Linked DNA regions of Homo sapiens: regions 1, 3 and 4 are each linked to region 2. The links are contacts of gene promoters, found by promoter capture Hi-C in blood cells and fetal thymus (Javierre and others, 2016). All regions are on one chromosome and are shown on one strand. Each heading gives the region's core, a stretch centred on a gene start or on the middle of the fragment in contact. The rest is flanking DNA. Distances are from core to core; before and after follow the strand shown. Region 1 has its middle 7.9 kb from the start of TRC-GCA9-3. Region 2 holds the start of PDIA4 (protein disulfide isomerase family A member 4). Region 3 has its middle 84 kb from the start of C7orf33. Region 4 has its middle 100 kb from the start of C7orf33.

The links. Contacts are between HindIII fragments. The CHiCAGO score rates a contact against its expected background, and 5 or more counts as called.
Region 1: a fragment that was not itself captured here is called in contact with the fragment with the promoter of PDIA4 in region 2 in 1 of 17 cell types (neutrophils); the score reaches 5.3 in neutrophils.
Region 3: a contact is called between a fragment that was not itself captured here and the fragment with the promoter of PDIA4 in region 2, in 9 of 17 cell types (activated CD4 T cells, naive CD8 T cells, naive CD4 T cells and 6 more). The highest score is 13.1, in activated CD4 T cells.
Region 4: a contact is called between a fragment that was not itself captured here and the fragment with the promoter of PDIA4 in region 2, in 1 of 17 cell types (activated CD4 T cells). The highest score is 5.7, in activated CD4 T cells.

The regions. Positions count from the first base shown.
Region 1 is chr7:149,626,384-149,629,114 of GRCh38, reverse strand. No RefSeq gene overlaps it. Among named protein-coding and RNA genes, the nearest start is that of TRC-GCA9-3, 7.9 kb to the left of the region's middle. The HindIII fragment of the contact is 2,952 bases long and covers 1-2,731 here.
Region 2 is chr7:149,027,122-149,030,088 of GRCh38, reverse strand. PDIA4 (protein disulfide isomerase family A member 4) reads left to right here and starts at 1,584. Exons shown (of 10, transcript NM_004911.5): 1 at 1,584-1,768. The coding sequence starts at 1,681. RefSeq lists silencers at 1,092-1,671, 1,742-1,811, 1,902-1,951 and enhancers at 1,276-1,869, 1,870-2,464. The HindIII fragment of the contact is 15,108 bases long and covers 710-2,967 here.
Region 3 is chr7:148,505,038-148,507,777 of GRCh38, reverse strand. No RefSeq gene overlaps it. Among named protein-coding and RNA genes, the nearest start is that of C7orf33, 84 kb to the left of the region's middle. The HindIII fragment of the contact is 6,358 bases long and covers 1-2,740 here.
Region 4 is chr7:148,485,715-148,488,652 of GRCh38, reverse strand. No RefSeq gene overlaps it. Among named protein-coding and RNA genes, the nearest start is that of C7orf33, 100 kb to the left of the region's middle. The HindIII fragment of the contact is 380 bases long and covers 1,171-1,550 here.

The sequences.
Region 1 (2,731 bases), core at 29-2,528, 600 kb before region 2:
GATGAAAAAGGGGACAAATTAAGACAACTAGGAAATGCTGAAACAGCCTTTGTTCCTGGAAGATGCTGTTCTGGTCCAGTTTTTGTTTGTTTGTTTTTTTTCTCTCCAAGACGGAGTCACGCTCTGTTGCCCAGGCTGGAGTGCAATGGCGCAATCTTGGTTCACTGCAACCTCCACCTCACTGCAACCTCTGCCTCCCAGATTCAAGAGATGCTCCTGCTCAGCCTCCACGGTACCTGGCATTACAGGCACGTGCCACCACGCCCGGCTAATTTTTGTATTCTTAGTAGAGATGGGGTTTCACCATGTTGTCCAGGCTGGTCTCGAACTCTTGACCTCGTGATCCGCCCACCTTGGCTTCCCAAAGTGCTGGGATTACAGGTGTGAGCCAACGCACCCAGCCCCAGGTCCAGTTTCAAGTACTGTACACTTAAATGTGAAAGGAAAATAAATCTTGGGGCCCCCAAATCACTAACCTGAAGGGAAAAGTCAAGCTGGGAACTGCTTAGGGCAAAGCTGCCTCCCATTTTATTCAAAGTCACCCCTCTGCTCACTGAGATAAGTGCATATCTGATTGCCTCCTTTGGAGAGGCTCATCAGAAACTCAAAAGAATGCAACCATTTGTCTCTTATATACCTGTGACCTGGAAGCCCCCTCCTTGCTTTCAGTTGTCCTGCCTTCACCTCAAGTTGTCCCACATTTCCAGAACTAACCAATGTACATCTTACACATATTGACTGATGTCTCATGTCTCCCTAAAATGTATAAAACCACCACATTCTACCCTCACCATTTGCTGGTTCCAGAAAAAATGAAATCTTTACCCTAGTGTCTAATAGAAAAGAAGTTAAAATGTAGGCACCTATTTAAAATGTCAAAATTGAAAAGCCAGAGGGGTTATCTGTATTTGAACTGGTGTCCTGTTGGATCTGCAGTCCAATACTCTACCCCTGAGCTATACTGTGTCCTGCTATTGTGTGGGTTAGTTAATATCTTTGACTTTTATAGCCATACCCAGATTACCAGGAACCTATGAGTTGCCACTTCAAAATAGAAGCTCATAGGAGCTGCCAGACCCGCCTGAGTGAGAACTCATTGACCTTGTGCATAACAAGAGGCAGTGTCTCCTCCTCAGGTACCCCGGATCCTGTGTCTTCCCTGCCGTGAGTCCCTGGGTTGGGGCAGCAGCCTGGAAAAGCACTGCTAGAATGACCTTCAGAGTCAACCTCTAGTGCCTGTCACGGTGGGCACCTACAAAAGAAACTCCATGTGACTGAGGTGTCTTTTCTAACACACTTAATGACAGAGTTGCGTCTGGCTCTCCTGGCCCAGTATTCCATTCAGGGCACTTTCAACACAACTGCAATCTACGACAAAAGATGATTCTTCCAGCTCTACTTCTTCAGTTAATATACATGGAGAATGATGGAGAAGAAGCAACTCCAAGAAATAGTGAGAAGGTGGTAGCTGAGTAGATTTTGGAATCCCCAAAAGCCTTAAAAGGACCAATGTTAACCTAGTTTCAAGGACCAAAAAATGTTGCAGGAGAACAACCCCACTTGACTCTTTCATTGTTTTTTAAGCGGCAGGGTATTCTACTGTTACCCAGGCTGGAGTGCAGTGAAACAATTATAGCTCACTGCAGCCTCCAACTCTTGGGCTCAAGCAAGCCTCCCGCCTCAGCCTCTCAACTAACTGGGACCACAGGTGTGTGCCACCATACCCAGTTAATACTTTTTATTTTTATTTTTTTGTAGAGCAGACGTCTCACTATGTTGCCCAGGCTGGTCTGAAACTCGGGGCCTCAAGCGATCCTCCTGCCTTGGCCTCCCAAAGCTCTGGGATGAGCCACTGCGTCCAGCCTCCCACGTGACCTTTCCGATGGCAAGCAGAGCCCTGTCCCTCTTAGAAGGAACACGTGGAGTAACACTTGGGTAAGCTCGTTTTCACCTCCTCAGCTGTGCCAAGGCCCCGCCTCTTCTCTTGTCACAGGAGCTGGTAAACTGTCCCTTCCTGTGAACTGTCTTTTCCTTCTACTGGAATTTTCTCCTTTACCCACAGGCCTTTTGCCTTGTAGCCCTGGCAGCCTTCTCAGAAGGCAGCAAAGCCAGCCACTCCTCTCCACTTCTGGTCCGAGGACCTGGGAAACACTGAATTCCACAGTGATTTCTATGATGTTAAATTCCTTCAAGGGACACACAGATGGTCACTTAAGTCCAGACCGCACTTTGCCCCACTGCTCACATCCTCCAGCACACACCATGGGACACACCATGAAAGCACTAGTTCCCCTAGGGGCCATATTGCCATGGAGATGACACCTCTGTCTCCTCAAACAGGAATAAGGCCCTTTTCCAAGGTAATCCGGGAGTAGCTCTTCCAGGCAACATGGCAGGGACTTGCCAACACATTGTTGTCTTGATAATAGAGGTAAATTATCATGCAGGGTGACCCGCAAAAAGGCCACAGTGAGAGAGGAAGCGGTGGTCTTCTACTGGGTCCCGTATCAAGTGGTGAAAGGAAGGCTGGACTCAGGGACATTTGCAGAATGATCTACTCCAATCTCCTCACTTTACATGTGAGGCAAGGGCTGACTGACTTGCCCAAGGGTCTCGACTGGTTAATGACAGAACTGACAGGTCTCCTGATTCCCAGTTCCCCCTACAATCTCCGTGGTGCACATGTCCCAGCCTAGACAAGGCTGGCTTTTTTTTTTTTTTAATCCAGGAC
Region 2 (2,967 bases), core at 335-2,834:
GTCTATCTTTAACATGATATTAAGGCTGGGCACGGTGGCTCACACCTGTAATCCCAGCACTTTGGGAGGCCGAGGTGGGTGGATCACTTGAGGTCGGTCAGGAGTTTGAGACCAGCCAGGCCAACGTGGTGAAACCCTGTCTCTACTAAAAATATAAAAATTAGCAGGGAGTGGTGGCGGGCGCCTGTGGTCCCACCTACCCGGGAGGCTGAGACAGTAGAATCACTTGAACCCAGGAGGCGGAGGTTGCAGTGAGAGGAGATGGCGCCACTGCATTCCAGCTTGGGTGACAGAGCAAGACTCTTGTCTCAAAAAATAAAATAACATGATACCGAACTGTCTGGTGGCCCACATTCATAGCACTCTAATAAATCAGTGTGTACAGTTGCATAATGTTCTGCCCTACAAAATTGACCAGGAACCATCAGATTAATAGGCATTCAACAAAAAAATTAAGTATTTTTAATTGCTAAGGTCTGTGAGTTATCCCTTTTTTCTTCCTCACGTAATAATCTGCACACACGAGAAAATATTCCTGAACTTGAGTTTCTATTTTTTTTCTTTTCCCTATTTGCCTTCTCAAACTCCCAGGTGTTAAAAAAAAGTCTCAAACTTAATGCACATTACAGGCTTCTTTTCTGACATACAAAAATCGTCATCTTAACCTAGTTTTCTTCTCCAAAGTGGTCAAGAGGGAAAACCTCAAGCTTTTATTCAGATCTATGTAAACCACTAGATTGCCTATCTGGTATTTCCTTTTGCAGAAAATCACTAGAAAACTAAATAAGACGAGGCAAAGTTTAGACAAGAATCTGATGGCTTGTTTCTCCGAGATGCAACCTTGGAGAGAGGCTTCCCCAGATTCTAGTCTGGATTCACTTTACTGCATGCTCTTCCCCGCTCTCTAGCTCAATACTCCGGAGAGAAATGAAACTTTTATTTGCTCGAGCAGAAAAAGAAATTAAGAAGGCCACGAACATGCAGCGGACTTGGAGCCCCTTTCTAGCAACAAACAGGCTCGTGCTCCTCCGCCCGCGTTGGTCTCCAGCTTCCCAGAGCCCCGGCGGGTTGCGAGGACCGCCCTGCTCGCCACTGCTCCCCACCGCTCCGGTACCGACACGTGTTCTTACTGCCAAGTTCGGCCGCAGGATGCTGAGCCGAGCCCCGCCCCGCTCCACATTTCCCAGGCTCCGCCTCTCCTGCCCCGCCCCCGGCACCGATTGCCAATAGCGCCCCGAGGCGTAGCCAGGTCCCGCACTCCCCGTGCCCGGCCCGCCGCCTTTGTTCTCCCCCGCTCTCCCTCTTGGCCTGTGCGCTCCCGGCAAACCGAGTGGCAGCCGCTGATTGGTGGTTGTGGCGCAGCCAATCAGAAGGGGGCACCTCACGTTAGGGCTCGGAGTTTTAAACGCGCAGCCGAGGGCCGCGCGCAGGAGTAGGGAGGGCCTAGGGCGGCGGAGCCGACTCGTCGCGGCCGAGGCGCGCGCGGTCCGTGCCGGCGTCAGTCTGGGATTGGCCGGCCCGCGACTTCCTCCGCCCCCTGCCAATCGCCGGGGACGACTTCCGTGGGTTTTTCCGGCTCCCCCGCGTCGCTAAGGAGCGACGGGCTGTCGGCCAGACCCCGAGTTCTCGGTGCGCTCAGCGGCCGCCGACGCTAGGAGGCCGCGCTCCGCCCCCGCTACCATGAGGCCCCGGAAAGCCTTCCTGCTCCTGCTGCTCTTGGGGCTGGTGCAGCTGCTGGCCGTGGCGGGTGCCGAGGGCCCGGACGAGGGTGAGCGGCAAGCGCGCCGCGGGTCGGGCTGTGCTTGCGGGGGCTGCAGAGCTGTGCGGGGGCCTGGGCCCTGCGACCCCGGCGGGCGGGCTTCCGCGCGGTCAGCTCCAGAACTAGTGATGGGCGCCGAGCCCGGGGTAAACTTGGCGGAGTTGAAGGGGCGGGGGCGGTGGCTGTGGCAGTGGCAGGATCGATTTGGGGTTCCCGGGAGAGGAAGGTGGCCGGGGTCTCTTGGGCTCCGACGCCCTGGAAGACCCCTGTCACCCGAGGCTGGGAGAGGGCTGCAGAGCGCCTTTTTTGCAGCTGGGTCCTTCGCCTTAATTTACAGATTTTCGTCAGGTCCAGGCTAACTCCAGGCGAACGCGCCCAGGCAGTGGGAAGGGAGAGGGAGAGCCACTGGAGAGAAGGGGCGAGGGCGTGAAGAAACAAGTGCGAGTTCTTTGGAACAGCAAGCATTCCTTTTCAAAATGTGGTCTGTAGATTTGGAAATGATTAATCCATAGATTCTGGAGAAAGGGATGGCTTGGTTTGCACCTTTGAGAAACTAGAGATACCATTCCTTCTGCATTTAGCATTTACTGTGTGCCAGTCCCTGTACTGGGTTCTGGGAGGAAAAGATTGTGAGTGTGGTCCCTGCCCATGAAGCGCGTACTCCAGTAGGAATAGTAACAACTACTTCATGGTCCCTGCATTTTTCTTCGAAGTGAGCTAGCTGCAGACATAAGAACTCTGAAGATTAGGAAGTGCTAATTAAGGAAAAGTTGTTATTCCTAGAGAATAAGGCATCCAGGTACTGGTCTTTACCTTCTTCCTCTCTGCCCTTACTTTTAATCACTAGCTTTTTAACCTTCTGAGTTTGTTCTAATATAAATATACACTCTTTGATAATGTTAGTGTGTAGGGAAATCGTGAACTTTATACTCTTTCAAACAGATTGAGTAACTTCTGCGTGGGTCACTGATTCAAAAAGAGTCTTTGCCCAAATAGAAAAGGAAGTAAAAACCCACACTCGGCGAGAAAAACACCTGCCGAAAGGAATCCGATAGCGGGACTGCTTACAAATTGTGTCTTGAGACCTTTACCCAAATCATGTTTGTTTAAATAGTGTTTATTTAAATACAGATACCCAAAATACACTGAAGCAGAATGCAGGGGTGGGCCCCGGAATCTGCGTTTTAAGTCAGTTTTCCCTTGAGACA
Region 3 (2,740 bases), core at 231-2,730, 520 kb after region 2:
TCATGATTAAAAAACAAAAACTAGAGTAAAACTCTTAGCCTTCCTGGATTTTAGGAGAAATTCTTTATTATGATGAAAGGCATTGACAAAAACAAACAAAAAGACAGCAAACTTCATAGTTACTGACGTAACGTTAAAAGTATCTCCTTTAAAATCAGGATCAAGATAGGGTATTCACGGCTGGGCATGGTGGCTCATGCCTGCAATCCCAGCACTTTGGGAGGCTGGGGTGGGCGGATCACTTGAGGTCAGGAGTTTGAGACCAGCCAACATGGTGAAACCCCGTCTCTACTAAAAATTCCAAATTAGCCGGGCATGGTGGCATGTGCCTGTAAGCCCAGTTACTTGGGAGGCTGAGGCAGGAGAATTGCTTGAACTCAGAAGGCAGAGGTTGCAGTGAGCTGAGATCGCACCACTGCATTCCAGCCTGGGCGACAGAGCGAAACTCAGTCTCAAAAAGAAAAAAAAGGGTATTTACATCATCACTGTACCGAGGGGCCTACCAAGCCCAGTAAAACAGAAAGATGAAATGAAACATGTAAGAGTCAAAAAGGAAGTAACAGAACTGTCATTATGAGCAATTGATATCATTGTCTAGGCAGAAAATTTAAGAATCTTTATAGGCTAATGTTTTGCATAGGGGAATTTAATGGGTTGTTTCAGAAAAATCTCTCCTTGTTTCTTCCTTCTGCCAACTTGATTCATAACCAGCTTGCAGGTGTAAGAGTGCCACTAGTCATAAAGCCTCACTAAAAAAAAGAAACTCCTAAAATAGGAAATTAAATGAAACAAAGATCACGACCTCATCCTTTGAAGCCCCTTAGCATCTCCATCAAAAATTTCATCTGCCTCCTTATCTCCCTCTAAGTAAGTGTGGACTAGTATTTAAGACACAAAATGATCTATTTAACTTTATGATTTTTAATATTAATTATTAGATGTGATGATATTCACTGTGTTTTGTTTTTTTTTTTGAGATGGAGTTTCACTCTTGTTGCCAGGCTGGAGTGCAATGGCGTGATCTCGGCTCACCACAATCTCCGCCTCCCAGGTTCAAGCGATTCTCCTGCCTCAGCCTCCCAAGTAGCTGGGATTACAGGCGTGCGTCACCACATCCGGCTAATTTTTTGTATTTTTAGTAGAGATGGGGTTTCTCCATGTTGGTCAGGCTGGTCTCGAACTCCCGACCTCAGGTGATCCGCCTGCCTCGGCCTCCCAAAGTGCTGGGGTTACAGGCGTGAGCCACCGCGCCAGGCCGATATTCACTATGATTTAGAAATTCACTTGTATGCAATTTTATCTGTATGACGGTCATACAAACTATTGTAGATTGATGTGCCTGAGAACTTAGCCTCCATTTATGGCATTGTTTCTTTGGGAAAACACATTTTGAGTGACAAACAGTCCTTTGGAATGCAGCCTATTTGTAGGTCAGAGACCTTGGTGAAGGCAGAAGTTAGAGTCCCAGTCTGTGTCTCTGTCTCTGAGACAGAGAATGTGACCTTATTTGGATACAGTTTTTGCAAATGCAATTCAATTAAGGTTCTCGAGATGAGATCATCCTGGATTATAAGGGTGGGTCTTCAATCCAATGACAATTATCATAGGAGACACAACGAGAAGAGACACAGAAGGTCATGTGAAGATGGAGGCAGAGATTAGAGTGATGCTGCCCAGGTCCAGGAATGCCTGGAGCCACCAGAAGCCAGAAGAGGCAAGGAAGTGCAGCCTCCCCTAGTAGCTTTGAAGGGGCTGTGGCCCTGCCAACATCCTGATTGCAGACTTCTGATCTCCAGAATTGTGAGAGAATGAATTTCTGTGGATTCAAGTCAGCACATTTGTGGTAATTTGTTTCTGCAGACCTGGGAAACGAAGACAGTGTATTCTGTGAGCTCCTCACGTAGGAAAAGTGAGTGCTGCCAACTTCCACAGCCTTGATTCTGTTACCAGAGCCTTGATAGACGGACGTGTGCCAGGTATTGAGCTAAGAGTTGCACATGTCTTCTCAATTGATCTGGATAGCAAACCTGTGTTCCACTTGGAAATACAGTAACTGGGGTTTTGAGAGATTCTACACTTGCATGCACAAAGACATATAAGCAATCATAGCTGGGCACAGTGGCTCACGCCTGTAATCCCAGCACTTCGGGAGGCTGAGGTGAGTGGATCACCGGAGGTCAGGAGTTCAAGACCAGCCTGGCCAACATTCTAAAAATACAAAAAGTAGCCAGGTGTGGTGACGGGCACCTGTAATCCCAGCTATTCAGGAAGCTGAGGCAGGACAATCGCTTGAACCCAGGAGGCAGAGGTTGCAGTGAGCCGAGATTGTACCACTGCACTCCAGCCTGGGCAACAGAGCGAGACTCCGTCTCAAAAAAAAAAAAAAAAAAGACACACAGGTAATCATACTAACTACTACGGCTCACTGAATGTCTACTGTGGGCCAGATGTTGTGCTAAACTCTTTTAAAGTATGCTTATCTAAGTCTGCAGCAACTGTCTGAGGTAGTGCTATTCATTCATTCCTGGCACAGATATTTATACGTGCCTGCTGTATGCTGGCCCTGTCCTGGATGCTGGGCCACAGCAGTGAACCAGATGGAGGGTAAGCCCTCCCTCATGGCACTTGCATTTTTGTATGCTGAAATGTTCAATAAACAAACAAATGAATCAAAATTATGTCTGGTGGCATTAAGAGCTATTGAGAAAAACAAATCAGGGAAGGAAGAAAGATAAAATGT
Region 4 (2,938 bases), core at 111-2,610, 540 kb after region 2:
ACTTAGGAGGCTGAGGCAGGAGAATGGCGTGAACCCAGGAGGCGGAGCTTGCAGTGAGCCGAGATCGTGCCACTGCACTCCAGCCTGGACAACAGAGCCAGACTCCATCTCAAAAAACAACAACAACAAAAAAACAACAAAATTCCCCCTGAAGCAAAACAGAATTATTTAACCATGTATGCATGTATTTGCCCTTGACTGCAGTGTTGCTGAGTGTTTGAATCCTGTAGAAGAGAGGAACGTGGCCCTGTGTCCCACTTTATCCTGTGTCCAGGATGAAACCGACCCTGAAGGACATTTCCTCTTGTTTTTTCTCTTTATCCACACTGAGGGCCCAACAGCAAAAAGATGGATGCACTCACATTGCAGTGAGACCCACTGCTGATTTGGACACCTGCAGCTCTTTCTGGAGCTTAGTGAGATTCCTGGGGAGGGAGGAGGGTGCAGTTTGTGGTCCACCTTCTCTTTCACTGCTTCCGTCTTGGGGGAGCACTTTGAACTTCAGCTGTAGAAAGGGTTAATCCATTACTGGCTCTTTTCCAAAGCTCATGCGGAATGCTGTAGTGCATCAATAGGCCTGAAACACTCAAGTCTATGGTAAAAGAGAGGGAGCCAGAAGGGGCCTTAATGGAACAAGGCTGGATGTGGTTGAAAGGAAGCAAGTGTTCTGAGGAAGAGGCCTGATGGCTTCAGAAAGAGAAGTGTTTTCCCCTCTCGCCATAGGCATTGCCCTACGGCTCTCAGTAGAGTGGCTTAAACCAACCAATAGATATTACATCTATCCATATGATCATATATGATTCCAATGGTTTTATATATAGATGTAATCATATTGATATGATCATATATACATGATAATTCTATTTATGTGAATCTCAAATTTATATTTCTAGCCCTGTGTTCTTGATTTGTATAACCAACCACCTGCTTGCCTGCAGGCATCTCAAACATAATATGTCCACAATGGAACTCTTGGTTTGCAACTCCTCACCGTCTCCTGCAACTTGTTCTTCCTCCATCTCCAATCATTCAAGCCTAAAATCTTTGAGAGATCTTACATCTAGGGTATAATATAATTTAGTTAATACTTCACTTAATATTGGACTTTTAAGATGATACATATTCTTGGCTCTTATAAAATATACTTTAAATATCTTTGTGCATAAAGCTTTGTTTGCATTTCTGATTATGTCTTTTGAGTATTGAGAAAAATCAGTCTATTCCTGATTTGCTGAGCTCAGAGCAAAAGTAAAAATGTGTCTAGATATTTAAGTTATAAATCAAGCAAACAAATTGATAATTTATATAAGATATATTCTAGCCATCTACCTTGACAAATATACCTTCAAAATGGCCTGAAATACAAGGTTTGAATTTAGAATTTGTAGGTTCCTTGGAGTTCTGTAATGGAACATGCTGGCGTGGGGAGAACGGACCCCAGGCACTGACCCGGGGCCTGACCGCCTCCTCTTCCCACCCCCAGCTTTGTCTCTCACTGGGAGGGGGCTTGTGCGCATGCGTGTTGGCACCTCAGCCTGCACACTGAAGCTTCTAGGGCTGACCACACTTTCCCTTCCCATAAACCTTCACGCCTTGCTACCCTTTGGGTGATATGCTCAGGTCCTGGAAGCTGGCTTAGGACTGCTTGGGCAGGGAATTCCAGAGTTCCAGGAAGCTGGAGTGTGATCTAGGGGGATTGGTGAGGCATGGGCATGTTCCCTGATCTCTTCCTACTCCTTGCCTGGTGGGGAGATGACACCCGCGGCAGGGTGGGAAGGGAGGGGCTCTCCAAAGCGCAAGGCTAGGGAAAGGCCCCACTTCTGCAGCTTGAAAGTCAGTATGGTGGCCAGGCGCGGTGGCTCACCCCTGTAATGCCAGCACTTTGGGAGGCCGAGGTGGGCGGATCACAAGGTCAGGAGATTGAGACCATCCTGGCTAAGACGGTGAAATCCCGTCTCTACTAAAAATACAAAAAATTAGCTAGGCGTGGTGGCGGGTGCCTGTAGTCCCAGCTACTTGGGAGGCTGAGGCTGGAGAATGACGTGCACCCGGGAGGCGGAGCTTGCATTGAGCGGAGATGGCGCCACTGCACTCCAGCCTGGGCGACAGACTGAGACTCTGTCTCAAAAAAAAAAAAAAAAAAAAAAAAAAAAAGTCAGTATGGGCAGGAAGTCCTGGCTCTAAGCATATGATCAATTTCCGAGTTGCTTTCCAGAAAGATTAGACCAGTTTACCTGCCCATTTATTGAAGGGCTCCAGGTATCAAGAGAGTTTCCAGTGGTCTACTAGACACGTGACCTTGGGCAAGTTAAGCATCCTCTTCAGGACTCAGTTTCCCCATCTGTAAAACAACTTCTTTCTAGCTCTAACCTTCTCTGGCTCTCTGAAACCAAGCCCTGTGCTTTAGCCGTTCATGGCCTGAGTTTCTTAAACCTCCTTTAGTGTGTGGATGGGGGTCCCCCAGTGCTCTTATCCAAACACATATAGGTGCACACCATGGCTTGTCAGAATAACTTTCTACCAGACCAGGAGCTGGCACCCGGAACTACGCAGGTTTTCTTCCAGCTTCGGCAATCCATAACAATTTAAGAAAAACAGAGGCAGTTTGCTTGCAACAAGGGCAACTTTGCGTCCTCCTTTTAATTTTTCCTCTCCTTTAGCCATCTGTAATGAATATACGGCTATAAAACAAGGCAGTCACACCCTCTCTGGTTCCAGGAGCACTAAATCCTTAGCGCCTCTGTGGTTATCTAGAAGATTTTATTGCATTTCACTGCAAAGAGCTGCCCCATGTTTATCCTTTGCTTCACCTACCATTTTTATAACATAAAGGAGAGATTTATGTTCAAATCCGGGAACATTTTTAGCTGACTTGGAGCTACATATGTAGTGCTTTGTAAAGAAAGACTTTTAGTTTCCTGAAGATGGCACTGTAATT